Linked DNA regions of Homo sapiens: regions 2, 3 and 4 are each linked to region 1. The links are contacts of gene promoters, found by promoter capture Hi-C in blood cells and fetal thymus (Javierre and others, 2016). All regions are on one chromosome and are shown on one strand. Each heading gives the region's core, a stretch centred on a gene start or on the middle of the fragment in contact. The rest is flanking DNA. Distances are from core to core; before and after follow the strand shown. Region 1 holds the start of RLIG1 (RNA 5'-phosphate and 3'-OH ligase 1). Region 2 has its middle 12 kb from the start of UBE2N. Region 3 has its middle 4.0 kb from the start of TMTC2. Region 4 holds the start of NUDT4 (nudix hydrolase 4).

Evidence for each region. The method cuts DNA at HindIII sites, captures the fragments that hold promoters and counts their contacts. A CHiCAGO score of 5 or more calls a contact.
Region 2: a fragment that was not itself captured here is called in contact with the fragment with the promoter of RLIG1 in region 1 in 1 of 17 cell types (non-activated CD4 T cells); the score reaches 5.1 in non-activated CD4 T cells.
Region 3: a fragment that was not itself captured here is called in contact with the fragment with the promoter of RLIG1 in region 1 in 2 of 17 cell types (naive CD8 T cells and total CD8 T cells); the score reaches 9.4 in naive CD8 T cells.
Region 4: a contact is called between the fragment with the promoter of NUDT4 here and the fragment with the promoter of RLIG1 in region 1, in 2 of 17 cell types (non-activated CD4 T cells and activated CD4 T cells). The highest score is 6.3, in non-activated CD4 T cells.

The regions. Positions count from the first base shown.
Region 1 is chr12:88,034,100-88,037,050 of GRCh38, reverse strand. It overlaps RLIG1 (RNA 5'-phosphate and 3'-OH ligase 1), which reads right to left and starts at 1,515. Exons shown (of 7, transcript NM_001009894.3): 1 at 1,313-1,515. The coding sequence starts at 1,402. LOC107984542 (a long non-coding RNA gene) reads left to right here and starts at 1,555. Exons shown (of 3, transcript XR_007063395.1): 1 at 1,555-1,637; 2 at 2,704-2,951. The HindIII fragment of the contact is 2,128 bases long and covers 961-2,951 here.
Region 2 is chr12:93,452,650-93,455,600 of GRCh38, reverse strand. No RefSeq gene overlaps it. Among named protein-coding and RNA genes, the nearest start is that of UBE2N, 12 kb to the right of the region's middle. The HindIII fragment of the contact is 9,169 bases long and covers 1-2,951 here.
Region 3 is chr12:82,681,411-82,684,361 of GRCh38, reverse strand. No RefSeq gene overlaps it. Among named protein-coding and RNA genes, the nearest start is that of TMTC2, 4.0 kb to the left of the region's middle. The HindIII fragment of the contact is 2,534 bases long and covers 248-2,781 here.
Region 4 is chr12:93,376,428-93,379,378 of GRCh38, reverse strand. NUDT4 (nudix hydrolase 4) reads right to left here and starts at 1,454. Exons shown (of 5, transcript NM_019094.6): 1 at 958-1,454. The coding sequence starts at 1,056. LOC643339 (a long non-coding RNA gene) reads left to right here and starts at 1,643. Exons shown (of 5, transcript NR_040096.1): 1 at 1,643-1,942. RefSeq lists silencers at 823-1,122, 1,343-1,682 and an enhancer at 919-1,858. The HindIII fragment of the contact is 6,665 bases long and covers 1-2,951 here.

The DNA of each region.
Region 1 (2,951 bases), core at 266-2,765:
ATTAAGAATGTGGATGCTATGCTATAAACGATACTGTAAGCTGTTCTTAACTGCAGAGAGGTAAGAGAAGGGGCTGCTTATTTTCCCTGGTGGAGAATACTTTCACAAACTACTCCCCTCAAACATACGAAGTTGAAAATCACAGTAGAGTGAAATACTAAAACAGATGATAATGTTTCATATGGATTACATTTGTTACAGCTAAAAAAAAAAGCCAATTACTGCTACAAACATTGAGTAATAACTGTGGTATTCTGACGAGGAAAGAACATGGTGATGATCAGTCTGAGTGGCAAGTAAGACCAGTTAGGTGGTGCAATGAGCAGGACATGAAATATTAACTGTAACAGCTGTGACAGCACTAGAAAGCAGGAAAAGATCAGATGCTATAAGGTAAAAAGCATCAAGGTGAATGGAAAACTGGCATGAAATGATTCCAGGGTTCATTCTTTAATTCAACAAATATTTATCCAGTGCCTACCACGTGCCAGGTCCTAGAAGCTGGGACTAAAGATAACAGGGCAATCTTTGCCTTAAACAAGTTTTAGTCCAGAAGACGAGAAAGCCAGTGCCAATGATGAAACTCAAGTGAGGTGGATTTCCAATGGACATGTTGGTTTTGTTTGAAATCAGCAAAGTTGGGAAGCACCCAACTAATCACTGGGGATTCTACTGATCAAAGACTACAACGTTTTATAGTACAATATGAAAAAATTACCCAAATATAGGTTACTCACTAGCATTTACCGAGGGCACACTATGGAAAACACGTTGCTGCAACAGAAAACCTTGAGAACACCAAAGTTAGAATAAATTAAGTAATTACTGGTAATATGAGGTGTGAACTTCAGTGACCTAATTAGGCTACTGTCAACACCGCCACTGGTTCGGACAGAACAGGTAAAGCAAGTCTTCTAATATCCACCCTTTCTTACTGCACTCTTGAAAAGTAGTAAAGCTTGGACTGTGGCAATTACCTGATTAGGGGGTTTCCCCAAAAGGTGCTGACCTGAAAAGGAAGGGACATGCTGTGGATGTGAGTTATCCATTTCCTTGCGAGGACAAGTTTGAATCTCCTGATAAGGAAAATTCTTTCGCAAATTCCCTCCCTCACAACTAAGAAAAGTACAAGAACCTGGAGCTCAGGGCGTACGGAACTCCCACCCCAGACCTCCCCAGGGAAACCTACAGAGGTTCCTGGCCTGCAGGGCAGTTCTAAAGCGCCCAGCCGCCCTCGCCGGGTTCGCACTGAGCCAGCGCCGCGGGGAGGAGCCCACGCGGGCCGCCAAGCCTGCCCGGCGCTCCTCCGTACCTGATGCTCCCTTTTGGAGGAAGGCTCCTCTTTCACCTCCGTCACAAACACACACGGCATTTTCCGCTGCACGGAGCCCAAGCGCTTCATGATGAGCCCAACAAGCAGTGCGAATGGAGGGCGTGCTTTCGAGCGGCGCCCGGTCCAGTCGCGGAGAAGCCCTGAAGCAGTCACCCGCACGGCTCAGGCCACGCACACTCCGCGCCCAGCCACCGCGGCTGCGCCCCAACTACCAAGCCCAGCGAGGGGCGGGAACGCCCGTCCAGAAGCGGCTTCCTGGCCGCGGCGCCTTCTGGGAGTTGTAGTGCAGAAGCTGAGGCGCCTGGTGGGTTCCCACGTGCGTCCTCCGCCCCCCACCCTCGGTTTTAATAACCGTGAAAAAAAAAAAAAAAAGATGCGTTTCCCGAACGTGGGTACTTAGCAATACCTAGTAACTAATGATTTTTTGGGAAATTAAATAAGATCAAATTATAAGCAATGAACATTTCAGATGTCGATTTAACACAGTTCCAATGGAAACTGCTTGCCTGTTATCTTTAGTTCGTGGGGGAAGCACTGTAGAAGTTTAGAAATGGCTAGAGACATCCCCAGATTCCCAAGCAGAATGAAAACTTCCTTTCCGGTAAGACTATCAGAAAACCCTATAATAAAACACCTGGGATCAAAAAAAGTTGTCGTTTGAACTACTCCTTATTGTGCAGCATAGCATGGTCGAAATGATTCTGATGTTCTTTTCGGAGTGAGTGCGAAATTTCAGCCTTAGACTAATCCAAAAGTACAGGAATACCTACAACCAGATTTCATTCTCAAGTTTTTCATAAGAATCTTGTTTAATTAAAGGTGAGCTCCAACAGCCCAAATGGCTTGAGTAATGGTAGTCAATCAACTGCGAGCTAAAAACAGCCTTAACTTACTGCTCAAAAGAATATTTTGAGGGTAAGTGATAAGATGGACAATGACTAAATAAAATAAATACTAAATATTTAGGAATAGTAGCCTTTCCATCTCATTGAATGTAGTAGTTCCTAGCCTGAAGTTGTAGGGGAATTTTGACTTTACTGCCATCCTTTATGGGCTTGGACTAGGCCCAGGTCTCATTTCTTTGTCTTATCTGCATGTACTCAACTGTCCAGCATGTTACTGACTTAGCCCTTGGAAAAATTAAACAACTATATCTCACTTAGAGGTATCTAACTAGTAAGGGGGTTCTCAAAGAATAAAACATCTTCCTTTAAAAAGTTCACAGTTATATTGAATACTGACAGTGAAAAAAAATAAAATTTAAAAAAAGTTCACAGTTTTTTGATTACTGGATTCAGAGGGGAGGGAGGAAGAAAGAGATTTGCCATTTCAAAGTGTTTACTTTCTTTTCTACTATCTTTTTCTCACAGGAAAACACAAAATGTTCTCCCACATCACACCCCGCCTGCATTTATCAAAAAAGAAAACACCTGATGCTGGCTGTGTGCTGTTGGAACCAGAAACTTTTTAGCATATTATAGTCGAGTGCCAGTGACTTCTTTGTTCTTTCAGAGGCATTCTAAAAAGCGGCGTGTTTCACGAATCTCAGAGACAACAACTTTCACAACTATCAACTGTCACCTCCCAAACTGCCACAGAACCTTTTAAGTCCAACATT
Region 2 (2,951 bases), core at 248-2,747, 5.4 Mb before region 1:
GAGTTCATGACCAGCCTAGGCAACATGGTGAGACCCTGTCTTAGAAAAAAGAAAAAAAATTAATATTTAAATGTATTTAACTTACTCAAGTATTATTTTAGCTGCTAGTCTATAAATAGAATAATAAGAACTATTGCAGTCATCAAAAAGAATGAGTTCATGTCCTTTGCAGGTACATAGATGAAGCTGGAAGCCATCATTCTCAGCAAACTAACACAGGAACAGAAAACCAAACACCTCATGTTCTCACTCATAAGTGGGAGCTGGACATTGAGAACACATGGACACAGAGAGGGGAACATCACACACCGGGGCCTGTCGGGGGTGGGGGGCAAGGGGAGGGAGAGCATTAGGAAAAATACCTAATGCATGTGGGGTTTAAAACCCAGATGACCAGTTGATAGGTGCTGCAAACCACCACGGCACATGTATTCCTATGTAACAAACCTGCGCGTTCTACACATATATACCAGAACTTAAATTAAAAAAAAAAAAGAATAATAAGAACTATAAATCAAACTTGAAGACTTGAGGAAAAACTACACTTTACTGTTACTTCAATCAATTTAATGTTAATTTTTTAAAAATCTGTAAATGACCAGGCATGGTGGCTCACACCTGTAATCCCAGCACTTTGGGAGGCCGAGGCAGGCAGATCACCTGAGGTCAAAAGTTCAAGACCAGCCTGGCCAACATGGTGAAACCCCATCTCTACTAAAAATATAAAAATTAGAGCAGGCACAGTGGCTCATGCCTATAATCCCAGCACTTTGGGAGGCCAAGGGAGGTGGATCATTTGAGGTTGGGAGTTCCAGACCAGCCTGGCCAACATGGTGAAACCCCATCTCTACTAAAAAATACAAAAATCAGCCTGGCATGGTGGCAGGTGCCTGTAATCCCAGCTAGTCAGGAGGCTGAGGCAGGAGAATCGTTTCAAACTGGGAACCTGGGAGGCAGAGGTTGCAGTGAGCCGAGACTGTGCCACTGCACTCCAGCCTGGGTGACAGAGTGAGACCCCCATCTCAAAAAAAAAATTATGTGAATAATCTTGTGCCTCAAAGACAACAAAATACATCAACTCAAAGTTGTTTTTGCCCTCATCTCTCAAAAATCACATCCAAACAACAATGAGAACAAAAATGGAAGCCGACAGAAACTGGAATACCTGACTTGGTAGAGCAAAGTCAAGCATGCAAGTTGCACCAAGGCTCAGGAATTGGTGGCATCAAGTATTTAGGAAGGCAGGAGGGATGAGGGGGCTGAAAAGTGATGGAATATTTGAAAATCAGCATAAAGCACAATTAGACCTCAGACTCCCATATCTAACAGCCTACCCCAGTTGGAAATGGAAATACAAATCCCAAAGATTCTGGATTTAGGAAAGTTATACCTAGAAGAGGGCAGAGGAGAAGAGTCCAATGGAAAACTGGGGAGGTGGCTGGGATGGTGGTTCATGCCTGTAATACCAACACTTTGGAGGTCCAAGCGAGAGGATTGTTTGAGGCCAGGAGTTAGATACTAGCCTGGGTAGCATAGCGAGGTGCCATCTGTACAAAAAGAAAAAGAAAAATTAGCCGGCTGTGGTGGTGCATCTGTAGTCCCAGCTACTCAGGAGGCTGAAGCTGAGGTTGCAGGATTGCTTAAGCCCAGGAGCTTGAGGGTTCAATGAGCTATGATCTTACCACTGCATTCCAGCCTGGGTGACAGAGCAAGAACCTGTCTCCAAACAAAGGAAAAAAAGAAAAAAGAAAACTTGGGAGGAGGAATGCCGGTAAGTTTTTTGAGCCTGGTCTGCAGCCTTTCCTGTGATCGTGTGAACCACCCCATGTCCTCCCAGTGAATTCCTTTTCTGTTTAAGTCAGCCTGAGTCAGTTTCCATGCCTGTAACCAAGAACCCTGACTAACATAATATTTTGCACTTACTCGGTGACAATTCTATTAACATTATGTTTCCATTCCCCGTAAGCCCATAAGGGTAGTTTTTTTTCCTGCAACCTCTGCCTCCCGGGTTCAAGCGATTCTCGTGCCTCAGCCTCCTGAGTAGCTGGGATTACAGGGACGTGGCCAGCTCGTTTTTGTATTTTAAGTAGAGATGGGGTTTCACTCTGTTGGCCAGACTGGTCTTGAACTCCTGACTTAAAGTAATTCACCCGTCTCGGCCTCCCAAGGTGCTGGGATTACAGGTGTGAGCCACCGTGCCTGGCCCCATAAGAGTAGTTCTTCATCTGATTTTGCTCATAATTTTACTTGCAGAGTCTAATATAGTGTCTGGCACTTAGTGGGCGCTAACCAAATAAATGTTTTTGTTTTGTTTTGTTTTTTTGAGACAGAGTCTCACTCTGTCACCTAAGCCAGAGTACAATGGCATGATCTCAGCTTACTGCAACCTCCCCCTCCTGGAGTCAAGCAATTCTCCTGTCTCAGCCTCCTGAGTAGCTGGGATTACAGATGCCTGCCACCACGCCTGACTAATTTTTGTATTTTTAGTAGAAATGGGGTTTCACTATGTTGGTCAGGCTGGTCTCGAACTCCTGAACTTAGGTGATCCACCTGCCTTGGCCTCCCAAAGTGCTGGGGTTACAGGTGTGAGCCACCGAGCCTGGGATAAATGTTGGATGGATGAAGAAGCCTTCTCTCTGTCTTCTATATACTCCTCATTGCATCTTCTATATCTCAGTTTAAAAACTTGTCACATCAAATTGTATTAGTTTTTAATGTCTGTTTCCCCTATTAGAATGTAAGCTCAAGCCAGGTGTGGTGGCTCATGCCTGTAATCCCAGCACTTTGGGAGGCTGAGGTGAGTGGATCACCTGAGGTCAGGAGTTTCAGACCAGCCTGACCAACATGGTGCAACCCCATCTCTACTAAAAATACAAAATTAGCCAGGTGTGGTGGCACATGCCTATAATCCCAGCTACTTGGGAGGCTAAGGCAGGAGAATTGCTTGAGCC
Region 3 (2,951 bases), core at 265-2,764, 5.4 Mb after region 1:
AGAAACTACGTAACAGCTGGAAAATCCAAAAATTTTCATCGCTGATTTATTGTTTGTCGTTAGTGTTAAAGATCGTGAAGTATTAACCAAGGAGAGAGGAAGGGAGCAGGTTCACAGTTTTTCAGAATACATCAAGTCTGCAGGAATACCCGTGAAGGGGAGTCACATGGACAGGTCTCTTCAGTTATTAAGAGGACTCAGATATGTAAAAATATTAGAGAGCTTTGGGTTCCACATGCTAAAAGCTTGTAAGCCTTTTCCACAGCTGTGTTCATTTTTAAGGCTCCAATAGTTTAATTTAATTTTTAATTTTTTTTTTTTTTTGAAACAGAATCTCACTCTGTCGCCCAAGCTGGAGTGCAGTGGCCCGATCTTGGCTCACTACAACCTCTGCCTCCCGGGCTCAAGCGATTCTCCTGCCTCAGCATCCCCAGTAGCTGGGATTGTAGGTGTGTGCCATCAAGCCCGACTAATTTTTGTATTTTTAATAGAGACGGGGGTTTTACCATGTTGCCCACGCTGGTCTTGAACTCCTGACCTCAAGTTATCCACTTGCCTTGGCCTCCCAAAGTGCTGGGATTATAGGCATGAGCCACTGCGCCCAGCCATGGCTCCAATAGTTTTAAATAAATTTTATACACTCCTCCATCTCCTCGTTTTCTCCTTTCCCCACCTCCCAATACCTCTGAATTGGAAGCCTAGGTGACTGGGAGATGGGCTGTAAAATGGCACATCTTGCCTTCCCTGATAAACAGAAGGCTGAAAACCTAGCTGTGTTTGAGAAATCCAGTTGCTTTTAACAAATTTTTCTATTATAATTTAATGTAGGTTTCAATATCCTTCCAGAGCATTAAGCCATGGTCTCTTTTAGATTGCTCTCCAAGGGCTGAGAAGCAGCCAATTCCTGAATTTTCTACCTTCCTGGAACAACTTTAGGAGGAAAATCAGATTAAAGATGTCATCATTATTGTTGGAGATCATTTAAAATCTGAGGACATAGGTTTTTAGTTTATCAAGGTGTACTTATTTGATGTAAGGTTGCAGCATCAGTTCTGAATATGTGTATGTTCTATTTAAAGCGACAGTTGCTCTCCACAGGTGAAGGAAATTAGGATGGCTGGCTTGAATTTTCTACCTTAGACACAATACTGGCCAAAAAAGCGCTAAGCCCTTATTTTCCTGAAGTAGGCTCCACACATCTGCTACCTCACCACTTCCTCAATGAATTCCTTTTTATAGTAGCCCCGACCTACCCTGCATTTGTTCTGCATTCTCAGTCCTTTGTTGTATAATTCATACCTTTGCAGTGCCAGTTCCTCAGGGTAAAGATTTCCTTATTTGCCTAAGACATTTTTAGTTTATTGTGCAATACTATCTTCCCTTTGGGTGTTGCATAAATATTAACTAAAGATCCACATCTGGTCCTGGTCGTCATTTCTATTTGTCCTAATATAACTTCTCTTTGAACAATTCATTTGGAAAGTGTGCCAAGGGTGAAATGTGGCACGTAAATTCTCTTGCTGCACAGAATGCTTTTTAAAGTGCCCACAGATTTGGTTATTTATGAGCAGGAGATTTGCGCCTCTTCCTTGCTCTCTCAATTCTAAAATTGTACTGGGCCAAAATAATTACAATCTTCCATATGTTTTCTGAAAAGGTATCCAAGTATCTCCTGCTAAAATTTTAACAGATTGACTAAGAAGCAGAAAAACACTAGCCCAGCAGGTGAAACTGCCTGTTTAGGGAGGTCAGAACAGAGCTCTCTGCTGGGGGACTCATAAGCTCTGGGATTTACTCAGGAAATAACCCTGCAGGAGAAAAACAGCAGAGCATGGATGAAATGTGGGTCAGGGAGCTGAGACAGGCACATGGGCGGCTTGGTTAACTAATGACTGTAAATGCATTGGCAACACATGTTACATTTAGATTCTTCCCAGCATACCATAAAGTGCTGCCCTGCAGACACTACAATGTATAACATCACTTTATCCCAAGACTTGTGATCCATTAGGAATAGAAGTAGAACAAGGCAGCCACGGAAACAGATCTTGTCACCTGTGTCTCAAAACAGGGACTGTTAAGAACCAGCTGCTAGCAAAATAATGATCACTTTAAGAATCTCACAGTCTCCCCAGCTTCCAAGTCTGAGAATGTGGGGGTGAGGGAGGAGACAAGGAGGAGGAGGAGTATAGAAATAACATGTTAATAACCAGATATGAATAATTGCAGAGATGTTGAGGCTAATGATAGAATTCAAAAACTCAATCAAGAAAAGCAAGGACAGCCTCCTTTATAGAATCTCTCTGAATGCATTCACATGCACTGATATAAACAGTGATCAAGAATGCTCTAACAGCTTGAAAAATTGCACCATCAGGAAACAAATTTTGATAAGCCTCAGATTCTTTAAGGAAAATTAATTTTGACGTGGACATTAGTTAAATTCACCAGCTATTCATGAATGTTGCCTTGATGTTTAACCCATATGAAACTTTTAAGCCAGTGTTGTCCAGCAGAACTTGCTGCAGAGGTGATTTTCTGTTGCACTGTTCATTAGTTATATGTGGCCATTGAGCAATTGAAATGTGGCTACTGTGACTGAGGAACTGCATTTTTAATTTTGTTTAATTTCAATTAATTTAAATTTAGTGACATGTGGCTAGTGGCTAATTTATTAGACAGAATAGCGTAAGCTGTCGGCTGACCAACACCACTTGTGTTTTACGGTGGATTTCATGTAAAAGCCAGTTAGTTGTCAACATCCTCCCACAGGTCAAAGCTTTAGCCCTGAATCATTTGATGTGAACTTCTGTGCTCCCCATGGGTGACCTGCTTTTATTTATAAAACGGCTACCAGCTATTGAGCATTTTTCTAGGTATTAGGCATCATACTAAGCCCCTTATATTTACTATCTCATTTAATCGTCATAACAGCACAGGGAGGTAGGTAC
Region 4 (2,951 bases), core at 205-2,704, 5.3 Mb before region 1:
TTTTCACCTATGTAATTTATCTTAAGAGTGGCAATACCAAAAGGCTACTATTGCCCTAAGCAAACTTCAACAGTTAGCCATTTTAAATAAATACTACTGAATTAAGTAAAAATCGCTCTCCAGGGAAACCCCAAGGGTCTCATTCTCAGCCCAATGCAGATGGGTAAATTATCCAAGAACGACTGCTCTGAGAACGAGAAAGGCTACTCCTTTCCAGATGTCAAGCCAGACAGCAAAGAACCCTTTATACATAAGCTGAGAGCTGGAGATTACTGTCTGAAAATGGCAGCTTTGCCCATCTCTAGTCCATCGTCTCCCTTTTGGCATTATTCCACATTTTTCACTAACCATTTTTCTGCAGTCAGAAAACTTTAAGAAGGGAAGGCCGTTTTAAAAATGAGGCATAATTATGCCAACAGCTTGCGGGTTCATGGACCCACAAGAATTGCCAAGACTAGACTCAATTCCAAGCACGAGGACTGTCTGTTACTCCACAAACATGCTTAGATCGAATCCGAGACCGCAAACGGCTGTAACATGGAAGGAAAATATGTAAAAGAGGCACAAGGGCTCTGCTGCAACACTCACGCCATTTCCACCCTCCTCTCGCTGAGCACTCGAGGTTTATCCGGCTTTCAACTCAATTCGCACGTTAAGATGGTGACTCCCGCTAGGCGAGACTTACGCGGCCCGGGACCTTCCCGGGGACCAGGCGCCTTCTCGAGTGCCCAGATGGAGAAACTGGGGCTGGGCGAGCCCCCTTTGTCTCATCTATCAGCCCAGAGAAAGGAAGGAAGAAGTGAGGGAGGAAAGGAGTGAGGGAGGAAAGGAGGGAGGGAGGAAGGGGGCTAATCCCTCCCAGCCCCGCAGCCTGCGCAGGGGCGGGGAGCGAGGGGAAGCACCCGGGCCCTAGACCCCGGCGCCCCGGAGGGCAGCGTGCGGCGCCGGGCGCCCTACCTCGTCCTCCTGCTCGCTCCGGAAGCACAGGCACGCCGCCCGCTTCTTGAAGCCCTCGCGGTCGTAGGTCCGCGTCTGGTTGGGCTTGAACTTCATCATAGAGGCGGGCTCCTGCTGCTGCTGCTGCTGCTCCGGCCGCCGCCGTGGGGGCCCGGCCGCCGCCACCCCGCCGGGGAGTGGGGGCGAGGGCGAGTCGGGCGCAGGAGCGCCCGGGAGCGCTAGTCGGTGCGGGAGGTGCGGCGAGGCCGGTCAGTCCCGGGGCCGGCGGCCGCTCCGACGCGGGCGGGACGGGACGCTAGCGCGGGTCACTGGAACCAGGGTGCCGAGATGAAAGCTCCGCCTCTGCCCAGTTGTCCGCCGCTCTCCATGGAGCCCGACTCCCGCTCGCCTCCGCTCCCTCCGGCCGTAGCCGCCAGGGGAAGGGCGGCTAGAGGCGCGCGCCACGCGGAGACAGTTGCGAAGACCCGCTCCCACTGAGCAGCAGCACCGCGGCGACCGCGCGCCGCCCCCTCTGCTCTGTTTAAATGAAGCCCACATGCGCCCCGCCTCCCCCGCGCGCCACTGCGCCTGCGTGCAGAGACCATTGCAATGGGGTGGGTGGGTAGGTGTGGCGGGGGAGGTAGGGGCGGGACCTCGGCCGCCCGGTGGGCGGGGCCGCGCGCACTCCCGGGCTGGAGTTCGGCGAGGCCTTGGGACTGGCGCTGGAGCCCAGCGTGGGATGACCGTGCCCCGAAAACATGCCAGTGAATGGAAAGAAGCCAAGGTCCCCTCCCTCCCTGCTTATACCCTCAACTTTGCCAATGAGGACCCTAAATACCAGCTGCACTACAGGGGATGTAACTACATACACCGTCACCAAAGTTGCAGCCTGGCCAAGAAATGCCAGGGGACGTCGCGGCGATTGCAGACTCCGCGGTGACTGTGTAGATACGTCCAGAATTCGCCCTTGTAGCGCGGGGAGAGGCGAGAGTGAAGGCCTAGAAAAGTTAAGACGTTAACTGTTTTTTTTTTCTTTGTTTTCACAAATGGGGGGTAGGCAAATTTCCTTTTTTTTTTTTTGTATTTAAATTTTTAATCTTTGGTTGGGGATGGCTTGTATTATTTAAAGAGTCAACTCTAGCTTAAACGTTTCTTTGAAGCTGTCTATAACATCCCCCACTTTGTGCCACCTTCCGGAAAGTATTAATACTGGCAATGGCTAATAGTTGCGAAATGGTTTTCATGTGGATCTCATGCTAAGTAACAGCGCAGCTGGATGCTGGGGCCACAGCACTAAAATATAATGGGATTTCTGCTATCTGGGAGCTTACAGTACCTTGGGGACTTGGAACAAACAACCTCTACACTTCAGAGTGTTAGAAGGGCTAAGATAGGAGCCAGGAGGCCTGATCTTAAGGTAGCTCGAGAAACCCAAACTCAGGCCATTCTGCCCTTCCACAGAGGCCCAGGTTGCTTGGGTCCTGACTTGGTTGGTTGGTTTTTCACCCCTTGAGGGCCTATTGTGTGTCAGGCACTGGCATCTAACAAAACCAGTCAGCCCCTGCCTCTCCAGGAGCGTAGGCACCTGAGAGCACACCGTCAAATATTAAATGATCACACGTGTACACGTAAAACTACAAATGTAATGGGCTCTAAGGTTTCAGACAAAGATTTGACCAGATCTGCAGTCAGAAAAAGATTATTGGGGCAGCAAGGCAGGAGCTGAGGGCTGAAGGAGGAGGAGCTAAATTGACCAAGAGCTTTCAAGGCAAAGGGAACTGGGATTTCTGCAGAGCCCAAAGTGGGAGGGAGTGAGGAGAGTTCTCAGAAATGAAAGAAAAGGCCAGTGTGGCTGCAGAGCGGAGGCAAGCTGGTTCCGCCTCTGGCAGAGGGGCCTGTGAGGCCTGACTGAGAGGCTGGGGACCACTGGAGAGCTCAGAGCAGGCACTGGTCTTTCTAGTCTCCAACCTCCTTTAGATTTGGGACTGCTGCATCTAACTCATCTTGTTACTCCC